Linked DNA regions of Homo sapiens: region 1 is linked to region 2. The links are contacts of gene promoters, found by promoter capture Hi-C in blood cells and fetal thymus (Javierre and others, 2016). All regions are on one chromosome and are shown on one strand. Each heading gives the region's core, a stretch centred on a gene start or on the middle of the fragment in contact. The rest is flanking DNA. Distances are from core to core; before and after follow the strand shown. Region 1 overlaps RPL37A (ribosomal protein L37a). Region 2 holds the start of FARSB (phenylalanyl-tRNA synthetase subunit beta).

Evidence for each region. The method cuts DNA at HindIII sites, captures the fragments that hold promoters and counts their contacts. A CHiCAGO score of 5 or more calls a contact.
Region 1: a contact is called between a fragment that was not itself captured here and the fragment with the promoter of FARSB in region 2, in 1 of 17 cell types (total CD4 T cells). The highest score is 7.1, in total CD4 T cells.

The regions. Positions count from the first base shown.
Region 1 is chr2:216,500,236-216,503,849 of GRCh38, reverse strand. It overlaps RPL37A (ribosomal protein L37a), which reads right to left. Exons shown (of 4, transcript NM_000998.5): 4 at 1-2,509. The coding sequence ends at 2,446. Among named protein-coding and RNA genes, the nearest start is that of RPL37A, 3.2 kb to the right of the region's middle. The HindIII fragment of the contact is 3,211 bases long and covers 1-2,855 here.
Region 2 is chr2:222,654,368-222,659,068 of GRCh38, reverse strand. It overlaps FARSB (phenylalanyl-tRNA synthetase subunit beta), which reads left to right and starts at 2,977. Exons shown (of 17, transcript NM_005687.5): 1 at 2,977-3,053. The coding sequence starts at 2,996. It overlaps LOC124907985 (a long non-coding RNA gene), which reads right to left and starts at 2,636. Exons shown (of 2, transcript XR_007088095.1): 1 at 2,558-2,636. RefSeq lists a silencer at 2,554-2,750 and an enhancer at 2,867-2,916. The HindIII fragment of the contact is 12,443 bases long and covers 1-4,701 here.

The sequences.
Region 1 (3,614 bases), core at 1-2,500, 6.2 Mb after region 2:
TCTTCAGCCCTATCTACATCACCTGCCTCCCTATCATCTTGGGAAAATCACTATTTCCTTAGGTATAAAAATATTTATCTCAGCACTTTCACTGGTCTGTAAACTGTCCCCCGCCCTTTCCTCTTTTAACTGTCATAAAAAAGCAATACATGGCTGGGTGAGGTGGCTTACAGAATCCCAGCACTTTGGGAGGCCAAGGCAGACGTTATCAGTTGAGCCTGGGAGTTTGAGACCAGCCTGGTCAACATGGCGAAAGCCCATCTCTACTAAAAATAAAAAATACAAAAACTAGCTGAGCTTTGTGGCATAAGCCTGTAATCCCAGCTACTTCGGAGGCTGAGGCACGAGAACTGCTTGAACCCGGGAGGTAGAGGCTGCAGTGAACTGAGATCATGCCACTGCACTTCAGCCTGGGTGACAGACACTCTCTCAGAAAACAAACAAAAAGCAGTACTTCACTGATTATAAAAACCGAAGTTTTCCATGCCTAATCATGTAACATAGCAGCTTTGTAAGACTCCAAATTAATAATCCAAACACCCAGCATATACTCCATTCTACTACCAAGAATTATACAGGAAACTGAAGCAGAGAGGTTAAGTCACTTAACCCAAGTCACCCAACTATCTAGGCAGTTTGGCTAAGTTGGTGTTCTTAACCGCAGCATTAGACCATCTAATGCTCATTCAATTCCCTATGCTTACATGAAATCCTGGTCACTCACCTGGAGATCCTATGGAGAATTCTCCAGGAGATTCACCTGGAGAGCTGTGTCATTCCTATGAAGCCTGAAAATCCTGACTTGTCACTCCTGGTCCTACCCCTACTGACCCACAGTACTTGCTTCACATTACAAAATCAGTAGGAGTACCATTTTGTGACACAAATGAGATCCACAGATGAGTTACTGCTATGGATCTAGCAAATGCCTGACCCAGTGAAGTATTCTCCTGGGGTAGCGATGTTTCTGCCAGAGGCAATGCAGGAGGTACAGGTGAAGGGAGACATCCGTGCAAAGGCCAGTAATGAGCAAAAAAACAAGTTATAGAAGATAGGGGTCAGACCAAGTGAAATAAAGGTTTTTACTCTGTCCTAAAGATGAAGTAAATCCACATTCTTATCGAATTAAATTTGCATCCTTAAAGGACTACTGACTCTGGGATAGATAAAAGACATACCAATTAGGAGGACTGAGAAGTCCATACCACAGATGGTTGAGGAGTTAGACTAAATTGGCAGTGAATTAAGTGCATAAAAGTGTCAAAGGCAGGCCTAAAATAACTCGAATTCTCCAAGGCAATTCATTTTTTTGTTACTACAACCATCTGTCAATCTGAAATCAATCCTACGAATCCTTACGTGCAAACTAAAAACTGGAGAATTGCAGACGTTTGCAACATTTAATGTGAAATTAGTTTCATACTGTTTCCTGAAGATGCTGATGGTGTAGGTCAAATGAAACATCATAGAAGAGGCAGTATATGTATATCCTTTAGTATATCTTTTACCTTCAGAAACTTTTTTTTGGAGACAGAGTGTTGTCCTGGCTAAATAAAGTGCAGTGGCACGATCCTGGCCCACTGCAACCTCCGCCTCGTAGGTTCAAGTGATTCTTGTGCCTGAGCCTCCAAAGTAGCTGGGATTACAGGCATGTGCCACCATACCAAGCTATTTTTTGTATTTTTCGTCGAGACGGGTTTTTGCTATGTTGGCCACACTGGTCTCAATCTCCTGGCCTCAAGTAATCCACCTGCCTCAGCCACCCAAAGTGCTGGGATTTCAGGCGTGAGTCACCGCACCCAGCCTAGACACATTATAAAAATATTAAATGCAAGGCTGGGCGTGGTGGCTCACACCTGTAATCCCAGCACTCTGGAAGGCCAAGGCAGGTGGATCGCTTGAGGTCAGTTCAAGAACAGCCTGGCCAATGTGGTGAAAACTCCATCTCTACTCAAAATACAAAAATTAGCCAGGTATGGTGGTGCGTGCCTGTAATCCCAGCTACTCAGGAGGCTGAGGCAGGAGAATCGCTTGAACCTAAGAAGTGGAGGTTGAAGTGGGCCAAGACTGGTATACTGCACTCCAGCCTGGGTAACAGAGACTCCGCCTCAAAAACAAACAAAAAAACTAACTGTAATTTAAAAACTAAAGTTTACAGTTGGCTCCAATGTATCTCAAAGTCAAACTGGCAGGAGCAGACTTATAAAAAGCTAACACTCATATCTAACTTGGAAGACTTATATTCTTATGCTGCATTTTACCATTTGACTACTAAAAAAGACACTGAATTACAATAATCCATCTTGGCATGCTTTTCCAATACAACAGTATTTACACAATGCAAACATCAGAATGTCTAATAAAGTTAACAAGCCAAGGCAATTTTGTTACATAAATTAACCCATTTATTATAGGCCAGTGATGTCTCAAAGAGTAGAGGAGCGTCTACTGGTCTTTCAACTCCTTCAGTCTTCTGATGGCGGACTTTACCGTGACAGCGGAAGTGGTACTGGAAAGAAAGATTCAGTTTCCAACATAATTAAGCATGTTAACATAGAAAATGGCAAATAAGTAAATCTGCCTCGTTTTTGTGTTAAAGTCGCTTCCCAAATTTTCCTAGAAAGAATTATACTGAGATAGACTGCTCTACCAATACTTTGCTGCAGTCAATCCAAAGATCTAACCAACATTAGATTACTCCTCGGAAATTAGTGGCTTCTAAACTACATGATGGCATCCTTTAAGAGCCATGCCTTCAGGATCTTGCAGAATTAGACATACAATCTCATGCATCTGATTTCTCAACCAGAGTTGCTTTTTTTTTTATAAGTAACTCAGTTGTGGACAAGCAAGCTTTAACTCCCCCTACCCCATCCCATGAAAAAGAAATGGTTCTAAGAGGCTGACCTAAACTTATTAAAAGGGAATGGACAGATTACAAGAAATGAATAAATTACAAGATGATACAGTGAGAACAATGATTAAGGAAATAAGAGCGGACACTAAAGTGCCTTTGGGAAAGACAGCTATTGAAATGACTACAAAAGTTTTACCATAAAATTCAGGAACTATACCTGAAAATCACCATCCTGTATTGTAAGTATATAAATAATTCACTTTCCTATCAGAACCAAGAAAGCACTCTAGTTCCCATTTTCCATTCTGCCCTAATAAAAACCCCCACAAGGAATATATATATATTTCAACATTTTCCACTGCTTCGGTTTAAGTTTAAATTGACTGAAACTTTAAAATCCAATTCTTTAATTACACTAGCCATATATGTGCTTAGTGTATTGGACAACACAGGTCTAGATGCTAGTTTGTAGTATAGTGTTTGTAGTATCGCCCTGTCAGGTGATACTGAGTTGCAGATTCACAAACCTGCAGCAGTCTAATACTGTTCAGAAAGACGAAACTGTGGTGGTCCTGATGGCCTCAAGTTCCAAATACAGTTTTGAACTAACTGACCCCTTCACCTATTTTTATCAAAACTTGCAGTGCAAATCAACGTTCAGTAGATTCAGCCCCACTAATGGACCTGCACAGTATCATGACAATGTTCACAACAATGTGCCCAGTGACCATCAAATTCTAAAGTAGTCTGTGAATTA
Region 2 (4,701 bases), core at 1,728-4,227:
GTAAGGCCATATTTTCCAAAGAGGTTATATCAATTTATACTCCCAAATTCTTGCCAAGATCTGATTTTTTTCAGACTTTAAGACTTCTAGCAGTCTCCTAGGTATAAACATGTATGTCCTTATAATTTTTATTTGCATCTCCTTAATTTCTGCTGAGCTGAGAGTTTTTCCATGCCTTTTGTCCAGCTCGTCTTTCCTTCCTAGGAAATGCTGCCACCTCATTCCTGCTTTCAGTCTGGCCCCAAAGTTAGATGAAAGAAGCATGTACCTACATTTTGTGATATACGATCTCATCATTTTCCATGTACCTTTCCTTTCAGTTAGCTAATGCCATTTGTGATGAGCCCTAGTGGCCTAGTTTCCTCTTTTCCATTAGAATCTTCTAACAGTTTAGCTTCTCACAGAGAAGGGACAGAGTACCTGTAACATGTGCAATGATAAAAAGTAGGATAGGTCAGTTGGGGGATGTGAGAGATGGGAACAAAATGCCCCTTGGTGGTCTGAGACTAGCAGAAAACTAACTAGGAGGATTAAAAAAAATGACAGTTGCCCCATTTCCAGGACCTCTGACATGATAAGAACTATACTAGTTATTTATGAGTATTATTTCAAATTCTTACAATAATTCTTTTTTAGTTTTTAAGACAAGGTCTCACTTTGTCACCCAGGCTGGAGTGCTGTGGCGCGATCACAGCTCACCACAGCCTCAACCTCCCGGGCTCAAGTGATCCGCGTAGATGGGATCATAGGTGTGTTGCCGCCATGCCTGGCTAATTTTTCTTTTTGTTTAGAGATGGGGTCCAACTCTGTTGCCCACGCTGGTTTTGAAATCCTGGGCTCAAGTAATCCTCCCACCTCGGCCTCCCAAAGTGCTGGAATTACAGATATGGGACACAATAATTCTTTAAGGTGTATATTATTATCCCTATTTTATGGATGAGGAAACTGAGGTTCAGAGGCCACAGAACACTTTGGAGTGCCCAAAGCAGAGCAGGTCAGCAGGAAGTCCTTTGGTTATTTATTATTACTATTTTGTTGTTGTTGTTGTTATTGCTTTTAAGACAGAGTCTTGCTCTGTCACCCAGGCTGGAGTGCAGTGGCGTGATCTTGGCTCACTGCAACCTCTGCCTCCTGGGTTAAAGTGATTCTCAGTCCTCAGCCTCCCCAGTAGCTGGGATTACAAGTGCCCACCACCACACCCAGCTAATTTTTGTAATTTTAGTAGAGATGGGGTTTTATCATGTTGGCCAGGCTGGTTTCCAACTCTTGACCTCAAGTGATCTGCCCACTTCAGCCTCCCAAAGTGTTGGTATTACAAGTGTGAGCCATCATGCCTGGCACTAGTCCTTTGCTTATTAATTGAGCAGAAAGCACCAATTTTAGGTGGAAAGCTGTATTTTGCATTGGGGATGTTTGCCATTTATGGGGTGTTGCCAATCTGTTATGTTGGTCACTGGGAAGGGACTGCCTTCCCATGGAGGGGAGCTAATACTGTATAGTGAAAAACTGCTTGATTAATAGTTAGGGTGGCTTACATCTGGCTCAGCTTTTCTCCCCTCATGTGAAGGACTTTGGAAGAAGCCCTCACTCACTGTACAGTAGAAAGGATTAGGGCAAGGCTCCCCCTGGAACTGCCAGTTTGTGCCTTAGTTTCATTACCTGTAAAACAGGGATAATGGTACCTATCTTGATGTATTAGTTTCCCTTGGCTGCTGAAACAAATTACCACGAACTTGCTGACTTAAACCATAAATTTATGCTCTCACAGTTCTGGAGGCCAGAAACCCAAAATCAGTTTCACTGGGCCCAAATCAGCATGCATTATAGGGCTGCCCCATGGGCTGGGCGTGAATCTGTCCTTGTCTCTGTTTATTTCAGGGATACATGTGCAGGATGTGAAGGTTTGTTACATAGGTAAATGTATGCCATGGTGGTTTGCTGCCCAGATCATCCCATCACCTAAGTATTAAGCCCAGCATCTATTAGCTATTCTTGATGCTCCCCGCTCCTCCACCCCCTCACCCCCAGTGTGTGCTTGTCTCTTTGTTTCTGGTGGCTGCTGGCATCCTTGGGTTGTGGCTGCCATACTCCAATCTCTGCCACCGTGGCTAAATCGTCTCTCTCAACCTCCCTTTTATGATTTGATGAGGATACTGTGATTCCATTTAGTGTTCGTCTTTCGAATCCAGGATAATCTTCATCTCAAAATCCTTAACTTAACCTGCAAAGACGCTGTTTCCATATAAAGTTACATTTAGAGGTTGCAGGGATTAGGGTCTGATATTATTGGGGGCCGTTATTCAGCCTATTACACTCAGGGTTGTTTTAAGGAGGAAATTTAATGCTGGCAGAGGGCTGAGCACAGCCCACTGACAGCAGAGAGCACTGAGCAAATAGACAAAAAAAGAGGTCTCTTACAATGCCTCCCTTATAGGGCTGCCGTAAAGTTCAAACAAAGCACAGGTATATCACTTATACGAGTAGAGGAGAGATTAAAGAATGAAGTAAAAACTGAGGTCTGTTAACAGCCCCTCTCCCGCCGCCAGGATTTGCACACCTTTCTCTGCAGGAAGCCTTGAACCCTCTCCACTCGCATTTCCACCACCTCCAGGCAAGATCTCCCACGTGGAGGCCCCACCCCCTCCCTGACGCGCCCCACTCTCGCCCCGCCCACCTGGTGGGCGTCCCCGGCCGTTAGCGCCCTGGAAGCATCCGGGACTTCAGGGTCAGTACATTACAATGCCTGACAAATCCTAGCCAGTTCTATCAAATTATATCTTTCTTACAGGCTTTTAAGCTATTAGTCTCATAAAGATACATTTAATCAGCGAGGTAATGGCATGATGAGTGTTTTTAGGTTAAAAAGAGAACAGGAACTGTTGCCAGCAGAATGGCGATATTCAAGACAACACGCACAAGAAGAGGCGGGTCCTACGCGCTTCGCTAGGGAAGCCCGGGTCAGCTCGCTGCGCAGGCGCAGTGAGTTCGACACACCATGCCGACTGTCAGCGTGAAGCGTGATCTGCTCTTCCAAGCCCTGGGCCGCACCTACAGTGAGTGGCGGCCCTATACGTTGGGCCCTACGCCTCTTCTCGGAGGCAGGGCCTCCCTCCAAAAGGGCAATGTGGCGACATTCATGCCTTCCTGAAGGTTTTGGCTCCGGGAGGCCGGGGTTTACGCGGGAAGGCCGATGATGGTGGCGGTCCGGCTGGGCTGTGGTAGCCTCGGAACCGGCATCGCAGCGGTGCCACTGCTTGTGCCCGGCTTGCCGTGTCATTCATTCAGCGATCTGCCATCGAGTGCCTACAGCGTGCCTGGCACCGACATCCAAGCCAGGGGATAGAACAGGAAGGAAACCCGGGGTTGCATCCCGAGCGTAGCCAGTTAATTGCAATAGCAGCGCTGTGGGAACTCAGTTTATAAGGGGGTAGGAGGAGAGATTTGTGCAGCGGGGTGGAGAACGGCATTCCACCTGTCTTCGTTTTATTAATGTTTCCTGAGCGCCTGTTATGTGTCAGGCACTGTTCTAAGAGCTTAGGACTAGAGCTGTGCACACGACACGTCAGGTCCACGTTCTGTCTGATGGAGGCAGACAATTAACCAGCACGTTAATAAAATGATTTCGGATAATGTTAAATGCCATCAAGGAAAGAAAAGGTGTTGTGCCAAGAACAACTTTAGATAGGGTGGTAACATTTGATCTGAGACCTGAATGGGGAGTATTAAATGGGTGTAGACTTCATTCTACATTTCATCTTTTAATCAGTTCTAAAAACACAACCATTGAAAAAAAGGAGGGAGATATTAAATGCAGTTATCAGTTACCTCACAGCCGTAGCAGCTGCCCCACCCTATTTTTTTTTTTATTTTTATTTTTTGAGACGGAGTCTGCACTCCCAGGCTGGAGTGCAGTGGCGCGATCTCGGCTGACAGCAACCTCCGTCTCCCTGTTCAAGCAATTTTCTGCCTCAGCCTCCCGAGTAGCTGGGATTACAGGCGTCCGCCATCGCGCCCGAGTAATTTTTTTGTATTTTTAGAGAGACCAGGTTTCACCATCTTGGCCAGGCTGGTCTTAAACTCCTGACCTCGTGATCCACCTGCCGCGGCCTCCCAAAATGCTGGGATTACAGGCGTGAGCCACCGCGCCCGGCCCCCACCCCATAATTTTTAGCTTGTATAAAGGCTGGACCAACTGGTTCGTGAGAGCTGTTTTTTTTGTTTTTAGGGCTCAGTGTGTTAACAAAGGCCTAATTGGTTTAATGACAGCCACCGCTTCCCAGAATAAGATTACTGTTACAGTGAAAATAAAGCTGGCTTTTAAGAATCTTTCCTAAGTGTGTACTTTTAGATAGTACCTATTCTCTATGTGATATTCTTCGTAAGTTCTGCCATAAGTCCCTGAAAGTAAAGGAAATACAAGGGTATTGTATTACTCTTACCCTTTGTACTTGGCTCTAATCGCCTAATCGCTTTATTTTATAATGAGCTTATTTATATTTCTTACCTGCCCTTCTAAACCATATTCTCACTAATGGGATGTGGTACAGGTTAATAATTCCTTATCCAAAATGCTTGAGACCAGAAGCGTCTTGGATTTTGGATTTTGGGATATTTGCATATACATAATGAGATATTTTGGGGGTGGGACCAAGTCTAAACATGAAATTGATTTATATTTCACATATACCTTATATGCATAGC